3 separate regions of the Homo sapiens genome follow, and regions 2 and 3 are each linked to region 1. Evidence: promoter capture Hi-C in 16 types of primary human blood cells and fetal thymus (Javierre and others, 2016). All regions are on one chromosome and are shown on one strand. Each heading gives the region's core, a stretch centred on a gene start or on the middle of the fragment in contact. The rest is flanking DNA. Distances are from core to core; before and after follow the strand shown. Region 1 holds the start of CD4 (CD4 molecule). Region 2 overlaps CHD4 (chromodomain helicase DNA binding protein 4). Region 3 holds the start of ATN1 (atrophin 1).

What was found. Contacts are between HindIII fragments. The CHiCAGO score rates a contact against its expected background, and 5 or more counts as called.
Region 2: a fragment that was not itself captured here is called in contact with the fragment with the promoter of CD4 in region 1 in 8 of 17 cell types (naive CD8 T cells, total CD4 T cells, total CD8 T cells and 5 more); the score reaches 11.7 in naive CD8 T cells.
Region 3: a contact is called between a fragment that was not itself captured here and the fragment with the promoter of CD4 in region 1, in 1 of 17 cell types (non-activated CD4 T cells). The highest score is 5.6, in non-activated CD4 T cells.

The regions. Positions count from the first base shown.
Region 1 is chr12:6,787,443-6,791,136 of GRCh38, forward strand. CD4 (CD4 molecule) reads left to right here and starts at 2,086. Exons shown (of 10, transcript NM_000616.5): 1 at 2,086-2,220. RefSeq lists enhancers at 1,570-2,127, 1,943-1,992. The HindIII fragment of the contact is 6,468 bases long and covers 1-3,694 here.
Region 2 is chr12:6,585,930-6,589,623 of GRCh38, forward strand. CHD4 (chromodomain helicase DNA binding protein 4) reads right to left here. Exons shown (of 40, transcript NM_001273.5): 23 at 2,369-2,493; 24 at 1,783-2,020; 25 at 1,455-1,630. Among named protein-coding and RNA genes, the nearest start is that of CHD4-AS1, 19 kb to the left of the region's middle. The HindIII fragment of the contact is 7,516 bases long and covers 1-3,694 here.
Region 3 is chr12:6,927,317-6,931,010 of GRCh38, forward strand. ATN1 (atrophin 1) reads left to right here and starts at 643. Exons shown (of 10, transcript NM_001940.4): 1 at 643-1,068. LOC124902868 (a long non-coding RNA gene) reads right to left here and starts at 380. Exons shown (of 2, transcript XR_007063194.1): 1 at 211-380. RefSeq lists silencers at 252-301, 482-641. The HindIII fragment of the contact is 3,716 bases long and covers 21-3,694 here.

The DNA of each region.
Region 1 (3,694 bases), core at 836-3,335:
GTTATTTTCCTTTGTCACTATGTTGACATTGCAATAATGTTGCAAAAACAATCTGGATAAAACTGCTGCCTTAGCATAAATGAAGGCAGTGGTGCCAAACCATATGATAGTCATTGCATTCTTCACTGCCAGGTACTTACAGTAAAAAAAGAAAAAAAATTAATGCCACTTTTACTTAAGAATGCCCTTAATGAGGCCGGGCGCAGTGGCTCGTGCCTGTAATCCCAGCACTTTGGGAGGCCGAAGCGGGCAGATCAGGATCACCTGAGGTCAGGAGTTCAAGACCAGCCTGGCCAACGAGTGAAACCCTGTCTCTACAAAAATACAAAAATTAGCCAGGCATGTTGGCGGGTGCCTGTAATCCCAGCTACTCGGGAGGCTGAGGCAGGAGAATGGCTTGAATCCAGGAGGCGGAGGTTGTAGTAAGCCGAAATCATGCTGCTGCACTTCAGCCTGGATGACAAAGCAAGACTCTGTCTCAAAAAAAAAAAAAAAAAAAAGAGAGATCAAGACCATCCTGGGCAACATGGTGAAACCCCATCTCTACTAAAGATACAAAAATTAGCTGGGCATTGTGGCGCATGCCTGTAGCCCCAGCTACTTGGGAGGCTGAGGCAGGAGAATTGCTTGAACCCGGGAGGCAGAGGTTGCAGTGAGCCAAGATCACGCCACTGCACTCTAGCCTGGGCAACAGAGTGAGACTCCCTCTCAAAAAAAAAAAAAAAAAAAAATATATATATATATATATATAGAATGCCTTTAATGAAGCAGTAAATACTAATTTTATTAAATCTCAACCCTTGAGTACGGTGTGTCATGAAATGAGAAGTAGCACACAGTACTATATGCTACAGATGAAGTACAATGCTGTCAAATAGGGGTACTTGTGTTAATTGTTGGAGTCGCAAGCTGAACTAGAGTTTTCTTTTCTTTTCTTTTCTTTTCTTCTTTTCAAGACAGGTTCTCACTCTGTCACTCAGGCTAGAGTGCAGTGGTGCAATCACGGTTCACTGCAGCCTCAACTTCCTGGGCTCAAGCGATCCCCCCACCTCGGCCTCCTAAAATGCTGGGATTATAGGCATGAGCCACCACTCCCAGCCCCACTTTTTTCAGACTGGAAAACGCACACTCACATGTGCATCTTTAAATGATCACTTGGGCTGTGGTATGGAGAATGGCGACCAGTGAGGAGGCAGGAGCTGTTGTCCGAGCAAGGGATGATATTGGCATCTTGGATTGGCATGGTGGCAGTAGTGGTAGTGCAGAGTGACTTGGGTAGATTTTGGAGCCATTTAGAAGGTAACATCCACAGGAACTGGTAAATAAATACGTGGGAGAAGTTGGGTGAAGGGGGTGTCAAAGATTACACCCAATTTATTTTGCTTGGGCAAGTTGGTGGATGGTGAGCCCCTCACTGAGTGAGAAGCCTGGAGAAGCAGGTTTGGAGGGTGGTAGTATGCAGGTGGTATGCATAGTTGGGGATGTGTGTTGAGTTTGCTATGTCCGGTGAGCTTCCCAGTGGAGATGTCCAATGGGCAGACGGATACTCACATAGAGAGTTCATGGTAGATTCGGGCTAGAGGAAAGCACCTGAGGCCTGGCCAGAGACGCCTAGAGGAACAGAGCCTGGTTAACAGTCACTCCTGGTGTCTCAGATATTCTCTGCTCAGCCCACGCCCTCTCTTCCACACTGGGCCACCTATAAAGCCTCCACAGATACCCCTGGGGCACCCACTGGACACATGCCCTCAGGGCCCCAGAGCAAGGAGCTGTTTGTGGGCTTACCACTGCTGTTCCCATATGCCCCCAACTGCCTCCCACTTCTTTCCCCACAGCCTGGTCAGACATGGCGCTACCACTAATGGAATCTTTCTTGCCATCTTTTTCTTGCCGCTTAACAGTGGCAGTGACAGTTTGACTCCTGATTTAAGCCTGATTCTGCTTAACTTTTTCCCTTGACTTTGGCATTTTCACTTTGACATGTTCCCTGAGAGCCTGGGGGGTGGGGAACCCAGCTCCAGCTGGTGACGTTTGGGGCCGGCCCAGGCCTAGGGTGTGGAGGAGCCTTGCCATCGGGCTTCCTGTCTCTCTTCATTTAAGCACGACTCTGCAGAAGGAACAAAGCACCCTCCCCACTGGGCTCCTGGTTGCAGAGCTCCAAGTCCTCACACAGATACGCCTGTTTGAGAAGCAGCGGGCAAGAAAGACGCAAGCCCAGAGGTAAGGTGGTCAGACTCGGCTTCCTTCCCCGGAGCTGAGAGGGAGGGGAACGTGGGGCAGATGCACAGGAATGTGCTCTGCCCAGTTGTCTGCCCACAGCTCTGGCCACCTTCTCTTGCATTTCTCTTGGAACTGGTCATGAGCAGCGATTTCCCACTGGAACTGTGAGCTTCCAGAGGTCAGAGACTGTGCTAGACTCCTCTCTGCAGCCCCAGCGTGCACAGCTCAGTGTCCAGAGCAATGGGTGCTCCTTAGAGGAGTAGTGACCTAAATAGCAAGATCAGAGAGGGAGTGAAGACTGGAGACTATCCCAGGCTGGGAAAGGCGTGGAAGGCAACTAGTCGTGGGCAGTTGAGGGGAGAAGACTGGAAGAGGGGAAAAGAGGAGAAAAAGAGTGAAGAAGGGGAGGGAAAAAATTAGAAAGAATAAATAAATATAAGGTGGGAGGAAACCTATAAAAAAGAAATGATGAGGAAAAACATAAAAACAAGAAAAAGAGCAAAAGAAGTGGAATCTAGTCTAGAGAAAATTCTTGCAAAACCAATTTTCCTTAACGGGACAATCTCCAAAAATTGACACCAAATATCATACTTGCAGCATTTCATAAGTCGCATGATCTATGTAATAGTCTCTTTTAACTACCTTTTGTGTTTCTGTGTGTATTTTTAAATTTTTGTCTGCTTCTTTGCTCTTTTAAGATTTTTGAACAATGTCTAAAGGCACTTCTACTCTAGTTAGCTTTAAAATGATTCATGAAATAGGAAAGCTAAAATTCTCAGAAAGTGTTGAAACTGAGCTTTTGCGTATGAATTGCCCTAAAAGTTGCAGATACATATCTTTAGATAAATATGTCATTTAAGAAACGGATTCGAAAAGAATTGGTGGTAGGGGTCTCATGAGGCCGGGAGAGTTACAGAAGGATGTGCAGCCCCTCCTGGGCCTGGCAGGGTGTGAGGGAGAGTGAGGACTCACTGTCCCTCCTGAAGGGAAGCCCTGTGCCATCTCAGCCTTTCCGCCCTCAGACCTTTCCAGCCCCTGAGACCTCATGGCCTTGAAGCCGTGCTATCCCCAGTGTCCTCTGCTTTCCCCTCATAGGCTTCTTCTGGGAGAGAGGTTTCCTGGGGTACGTTCTGATCCCTCAAAACGGAAAGGCCCTGTTCTCAATAATTCAAAGATTTCACTCTGAGTGGGATAGTGCTTCCTGAATGCCCTGCTCTTGTGGTGGACATTTTTATCGGGGCAAGGCTAAGAGCAGGGCCTGATGGGGGAAGTCACTGCTACTTCACATTTTGACCAATAATTCCTTGTGCTGTATCAGATGCTGTAGGCTGATACAAAATGGCCGCCGCCCTCAAAGTCAGATGAAAGAGCCCCTGAGGACAGCGTTAGAGACACTCGGGAGATGATTTCCCTCTTTCAATGTGGGAGCACTTACATAGGAGAGGTCTATATCTAGATAAAAACTCCTCCCACC
Region 2 (3,694 bases), core at 401-2,900, 200 kb before region 1:
TCTACTAAAACTATAAAAAAATTAGCCGGGCATGGTGGTGCATACCTGTAATCTCAGCTACTTGGGAGGCTGAGGCAGGAGAATTGCTTGAACCCAGGAAGTGGAGGTTGCAGTAGGCTGTGATCGCACCACTGAACTCCAGCCTGGGCAACAGAGCAAGACTCCGTATCAAAAAAAAAATATATAAGGCCAGGGGCAGTGGCTCACGCCTGTAATCCCAGCACTTTGGGAGGCAGAGGTGGGTGGATCACAAGGTCAGGAGATCGAGACCATCCTGGCTAACACAGTGAAACCCCATCTCTACTAAAAATACAAAAAAAATTAGCTGGGTGTGGAGGCAGGCACCTGTAGTCCCCAGCTACTCGGGAGGCTGAGGCAGAAGAATGGCATGAACCCGGGAGGCAGAGCTTGCAGTGAGCCAAGATCGCACCACTGCACTCCAGCCTGGGGGAGAGAGTGAGATTCCATCTCAAAATAAATAAATAAATACATACATACATACATACACAAGGAGGCCTGGTGTGGTGGCTAACACCTGTAATTCCAGCACTTTGGGAGGTCAAGGCAGGAGAACTGCTTAAGGCCAGGAGTTCAAGACCATCCTGGGCAACATAGCAAGACATCTCTAAAAACATTTAAAAAATTAACCAGGTGTGGTAGCACACATCTACTAGGGTCACTCTTCAGCCCAAGAGTTTAAGGTTGCACTCAGCTATGATTGTGCCACTGCACTCTAGCCTGGGTGACAGAGCAAGACCCTGTCTCTTTTTTTGTTGTTTTTTTTTTTCAAACACAGTCTGGCTCTGTCATCAGGCTGGAATGCAGTGGCGCAATCTCAGCTCATTGCAACCTCCGCCTCCTGGGTTCAAGCAATTCTCCTGCCTCAGCCTCCCGAACACCTGGGACTACAGGTGTGCTTCATCGTGCCTGGCTAATTTTTTTATTTTTAGTAGAAACGGGGTTTCACCGTGTTGGCCGGGCTGGTCTCAAACTCCTGGCCTCAAGTGATCTGCCTGCCTCGGCCTCCCAAAGTGCTGGGATTACAGATGTGAGCCACTGCACCTGGTAGAGACCCTGTCTCTTAAATAAAAACCAGAAAACACAAAGAGATAGATTACCTAGGATCTTCTGCCTTTTCTCTAGAGAGATGAGGTAGCATTCAAAATTTCATTTGTAAGGTTTAATAAAACACATAGGAGAAAATGACATTCTGGTAAAGAGCCAAAATAACTGTTGTGAGCATGATATTTGGTTGTAAGTTTTCTGACAACCAAGGCAAAGATGAAAATCTGATTAGTCATGTTATCAGCTTTGTTTTCAAAGGAAGAGGATCAATTCATCAACATAAGAATTTGCCTACAGATATTTTCCACTTGTCTCAAATACCACCTTGGTCTCAATGCCAATTTTCAGACCAATTACCAAGCACAGGATTGCCTTGGATTCATACTCACCCCCATTTCTTCTTCCCGTACCACATACTGGGCCACTTTGAATGAGCTCAAATATTCATTCATGCCCTGCAATTCTGTGTCTTCAGTCTCATCCTGGTTACGGTCTAGCAGCCGTTCAATGGCCTTATCATCGTAGTGGATAACACTGCTATCTTCTCCCTCTTTGTTGTCTCCTCCTATAAAAAATCAAGGGCCCACATCCCCAAAGTCAGTTTCAGCAGCTGCAGTGGAAAAAGCAAGTCCCACAAGACCCTTGGTATCAAAGATTCTCCCTAACCTTTAGAGAGGCCAAGCCCCACACCAAAACGTAAGTTCCTGACTACCTCACCTCCATCAGTGGCTTCATCCTTGAATAGTTCCTCAGTGCCAAATTTGAGGATATCATCAAGCTCCTGTTTGGACATAGATCCAGTCTTGGAGCCCAGCCCAGGCCGCACCACTAGATGCGTCAGCATCATTTTCTTCTTTGCCACCTGCGTGATGCGCTCCTCCACTGACGCACGGGTCACAAACCGGTAGATCATTACCTTTTTATTTTGCCCAATCCGGTGAGCTCTGCTAAAGGCCTGGAGTTGAACAGGAAATAAAGCCAGAAATTGTATTTTCCTGGTGCCACTCTTATCCTGACTTCCACATAATATTCTAAATTCAGTACAAGGCAAGGTCCACAGCCTACATTCATAGGAAACTTCCTTTTGCACCCCTGCCTCCAGACACCACCCTCTATTATCATGTTACCCAAAATAGGATCACAGCTAACCAAACTCTGGCTTACAATAAGGTAAACAACACAAAAAGAATCTGTTGTTTCTCACTTAAAAACCTAATTCCAGATGGTGGAGCCCTCATAGAGGCCACTATGCCTTTCTAGCATAACATGTTACTTATTAAGGCTGCCTGCTGCCTCTGCTCACCTGAATGTCATTATGGGGGTTCCAGTCAGAGTCATAGATAATAACTGTGTCAGCAGTGGCCAGATTGATTCCAAGGCCCCCAGCTCGAGTGGAAAGCAAGAAGCAGAACTGCTGAGCACCCGGTGCTAATAAAAGAACCAAAAACACCATTAGAAGTGTCTCCTAAATTCCAATTCATAAATGTAGTTTAAAAAATTAAGCCGGGGGCAGTGGCTCATGCCTGTAATCTCAGCACTTTGGGAGGCAGAGACAGGTGGATCATTTGACATCAGGAGTTCGAGACCAGCCTGGCCAACACGGTGAAACCCTGTCTCTACTAAAAATACAAAAATTAGCCAGGCGTGGTGGTATACACCTGTAATCCCAGCTACTCAGGAGACTGAGGCAGGAGAACCGCTTGAACCTGGTAGGCAGAGGTTGCAGTGAGCAGAGATTGCACCACTGCACTTTAGCCTGGGCAACAGAGCAAGAAACTCCATCTCAAAAAAAAAAAAAAATTTAGCTGGGAATGGTGGCACACGCCTGTAGTCCCAGCTACTCAGGAAGCTGAGGCAGGAGAATCACTTGAGCCCAAGAGTTCAAGGTTATAATGAGCTCTGACTGTGCTACTGCACTCCAGCCTGGGCAACAGAGCAAGACCCTAACTCTTATAGAAAAATGTCAGAATAGGCCAGGTGCAGTGACTCACACCTGTAACCCCAACACTTTGCGAGGCTGAGGTGGGCAGATCACCTGTGGTCAGGAGTTCGAGACTAAGCTGGCCAACGTGGTGAAACCCTGCCTACTAAAAATACAAAATTAGCCAGGTGTGGTGGCAGGCACCTGTAATCCCAGCTACTCGGGAGGCTGAGGCAAGAGAATAGCTTGAACCCGGGAGGCAGAAGTAAAAAAGAAAGAATGTCAGAATATAAAACCTCATTAGGCAAACACCACAGTAATAATCATTGTAATCAAGGTCCACTGACGAATACTAATATCGGTGTGAAAGTTTAAGGAGAAACAGGACACTGACATAGTCTCAAATATCTCCCTCAAGCTATTTATCAATCACAATGGGAACAATAGAAACTTTACACTGCAGAAACTCAGCAGGCACCACCTTAACCAGTGATCAAGTCATTACCAGTAAGGGGACATATGAACATCATGTCCGTCCCCCAGTATGATGAACTGAAAAGGACACATCATCGACTGGGCGTGGTGGCTCACGCCTGTAATCCCAGCACTTTGGGAAGCTGAGGCGGGTGGTTCACAAGGTCAGGAGATCGAGACCATCCTGGCCAACATGGTGAAACCCTGTCTCTACTAACAGTACAAAAATTAGCC
Region 3 (3,694 bases), core at 629-3,128, 140 kb after region 1:
GCCACAGATCCCTCACCCCAAGCTTCTCTCACTTCTCACCAGGCACCCACAAAGCCCCCAGGCAGCTCCATCTTTCCAATCCAATCCCATTATCCCAATCTCTACCCCAGGATCCCCCAAACTCCTCCCACTTCACCTCTGCCACAGACCCGCTCGCCCCCAAACTTCAGCCTCCCCTCATCTGCCCTCACCACCCACAGCCCCTCCTACCTAGCCCTCTCCCGCGCCGGGCCCGCGGGCTCCCCACATTCCGCCACGGCTAGCCCTCCCCGCGCCCCGGCCCCCTCGGCCTCGGCCTCGGCCAACTCGCGCTGCGCCTCCCCCTCTCCGGCTCCCCCTCTCTCCCCCCTCGCGGCTTGCCTCGCGCTCCCTCCCTCGCGTCTCCCTCCTGGCCCCTCTCTCCTCCGTTCCTCCGCGCTCCCTCCTTCTCCCTCTTCCTCCCTTCTCCCATCCCCCTCTCCCAGGCTCCCTCCCTTCGCCGTCCGCTTTCCTGTGCGAGTCGCCGGACGCACCGCCCAGCCCGTCCGCAGCCCCGCGCCGGGTCGGGGCCTCGGGCCGGGCCATTTCGGAGGGACCGCGGCTTCGGGGAGGGGCTAGGAGGGGGGAGAGGGAGCCGACTGCCGGGGAAGGGGCGGGGGCCGCGGGCGAGGCGGCCGAGGGGCCCGGGATCGCGCGGGTGCGGGCTGCGCTAGGCGGGCGCGGGCGGCGGCGGGTCGGAACCGCGCCGAGGGCCGGGCGGGCCGCGGGGCCGGGCGGCGCGGCGGGGGCGGGCGGCGCGGCCCGGGGCATTCCGGGCGGCCAGGGGGAGGCGGCGAGCCCGGGGAGGTGGGGAGCAGAGCGGGGATCGGGGTTTGCTCCGGGGGCCGGCGGGCGATTGGGGCCAGGCGGGGAAAAGGGGGGATGGGGGCCGCCCTCCGGGGGGGTCGGGGCCGCCGCCGCCGTCGTCGCGGCGGCGACTGAGGCCGAGAAGAGGAGAGGGGGGCGGGGGAGCTGCCGCCGCCGCCCCCCAGAGGCGCCGGAGCCCGGAATCCCGCTCGGAGCCAGCCAGCCGTCCCGAGCTACCAGCAGGTAAGGTCTGCGGCCGCCTGGGCCCCGGGCCCGCGGGGTTCTGTCCCGCCCGGGCTCCGGCCTGCGGCTCCCCACCCCCACCCCTCCCAGTTCCCCCTCCTGCCGCCGCCGCCTCCATTTGTTATTTTCCCAATCCCGTCCCCCCACTGCGGGCTCTGCCTGGCCTGAGGGCCGGGGGCTCAGGGGGTGGGGCCCGCCGAGGAGAGTCGGGGGCCAGGGTTTCGGGAGGATCGGGAAGGTGGGGAAGGAGGGAGGGTCTCCGGAGGAGGCCTGTGGGGCCAGAGGGTATCCGGGACCCGCAGACTCAAAAGAGGAGGAACATCGAGGCCGGGGTTGGCGGAGGAAAACGGGGGATGCTGTGAGTGGGGTTCCGGGCGAAGGCAGAATGGATAGGAGAGATGGCAGCGAGGTGGGGCATGAAGCCTCCAGGAAAAAGCTCCAAAGGACCAGAACACGGGTTCCGGAGCCTGGGGTTGGGGGCTTTAGGAATAGACGGGAAGTGGGAAACGGGAAAGGGGTGTGGTAGGTGGAAAGAGGGATTGTGGCTGATGAACCTGGGGGAGACGGAGGCTTGGGCAAAGAGAGGTCCATTTTTGAGAAGAGCCGGAGGTTTTCCAGCGTGGAAGAGGGAAGGCCATGTCTTTGTGACGGTTTTCATTCCCCTACTGCAGGTCACCTCTGACCCTGTTTTCCCTATCCCAGACATAGTTATTTCTTGGAGAGGGCACTGGGGCCCAGTAGTGTGGGTTATCCCAAAACTAGTGAGGAGGAAAACAGGAACACAGAAGGGGGAGTTGGGAAGAAAGGGGTTCTGGGAGGATGGAAATGGAGAATTGAGCAACCTTACAGGCACTCCAGGCAAGTTGCGACCTCCACCCTCCACCCTCCAATTTCCGGAGCGTCCGCTGCCCCTGGAGCTGTGATCTATATAGGGAGGCCTTAGTTACTGCTTTGAGCTCAAAGATCTCCCTTTGTGCATGGGCTTATTTTGACTAGGGTAGGTACCTTCAAGCTCCCTTACCTGAGGTGCTATAGGAGGGTAGGAGTTGCTTTGGCAACTGGGGTAGGGGGTAGCTGCCAGATGGACACCTGGGATGGTCTCTTGAGGGGCACCTTTTGCCACTGTGTTGCTATGGTAGTGATCCAGTGGGATGTCAGATTGGTTGGGGGGGCTTCGAATGTTTATTGGACCTCAGCCTGTGGCTGTCCTTGGGACTCTGGGCTGGGTTTTGGAGGTTGTTTCTGGATCTGTTGGTGGTTGGGAGTTTCCCCACGGTGTGCACCCTTTCATGTTGAAGTCTGTTGGAACAGGTAGATACGTTCCTTGCAGATCATAGGTGTTTCTCCAAGTCTCTCCACCTGGGCATGATGGGAGGATGAAAACGCTTCTGTTCAGGTTACACCATCTTTTGGCAGTTGGTTCTGACCTCTACCTCCCTTATTATGTTATTTTTTGTAGAGTTGTCTTTTTGCTTCTTTGCACTTTCTTTCATTTTCTAAAACTTGAATTCCTCTTTGAGCCTCCCTTCTTGAGTAACCCTTTTCCTCTTTCCCTCAACTAACCTTTGGCCTTCTTCCCTGACCTTGTAGAAATGGCTGGGCTCCCAGGCCCATCCCAGGTGAGGGTGGCCCAGGACAGAGGGCTGTGAAACAGCTTCATGCAGGGGAAATACTATAGAACAGGAGCCAGGAGACCTGTGTCTAGACCTGGCTGTGCCTCTGTGACCTTGGGCAAGTCACTTCTCTTTGAGCCTGGGCTTCATTGTTAAGATGAAGGGGCTATAGATGAGATGATCTCTGAGGCCTCTCTGAAGGTCCCGGATTCTCAGAAGGCTTAGGCCAGTGCATCGTTATCTGCTGGTCTGGGCTGCATTGTTATCTAGGAGTCACTTTGGACTGGTTTGTTAGTCTGGCAGGTCCAGAATGATGTTGGGGGCTGGGCCAATGATCCTGAAATTTAGCCTGCGAGCCCCTCCCAGAGAGCTTGTGACTCCACTGTATTCCTTCTGACATCCCATATTTCTCTCTTAATTTCTTTTCCTGTTCTTACTTAGGGGCTCTTTTTCTAGTTCTCACTTTCCTCCCAACCCAGTCTGGTCTTAATCATTTTCTTTTTAAAGTAAGGTAATGGCAGTGCGCAGTGGCTCACGCCTGTAATCCCAGCACTTTGGGAGGCTGAGGCGGGCGGATCACGAGGTCAGGCGATTGAGACCATCCTGGCTAACACGGTGAAACCCCGTCTCTAGTAAAAATACAAAAAAATTAGCCGGGCGTGGTGGCGGGCGCCTGTAGTCCCAGCTACTCAGGAGGCTGAGGCAGGAGAATGGCGTGAACCCGGGAGGTGGAGCTTGCAGTGAGCCGAGCCGAGATCGCGGCACGGCACTCCAGCCTGGGTGACAGAGTGAGACTCCGTCTCAATAAATAAATAAATAAATAAATAAATAAAATAAAGCAAGGTAATGAAGGTGAATGTGCTTAGTATGTGGCCAGATACAGAGTAGGTGCTCTGTAATATTAGTTACAGTGATTGCCTGCTAGGAGTGTAGGCTGGTGCTAAAACATGACCCAGGTCTAGAAAGACACACAATCCACCCCTAACTCCTTTCCTCGTCTGCCACTCCTTATC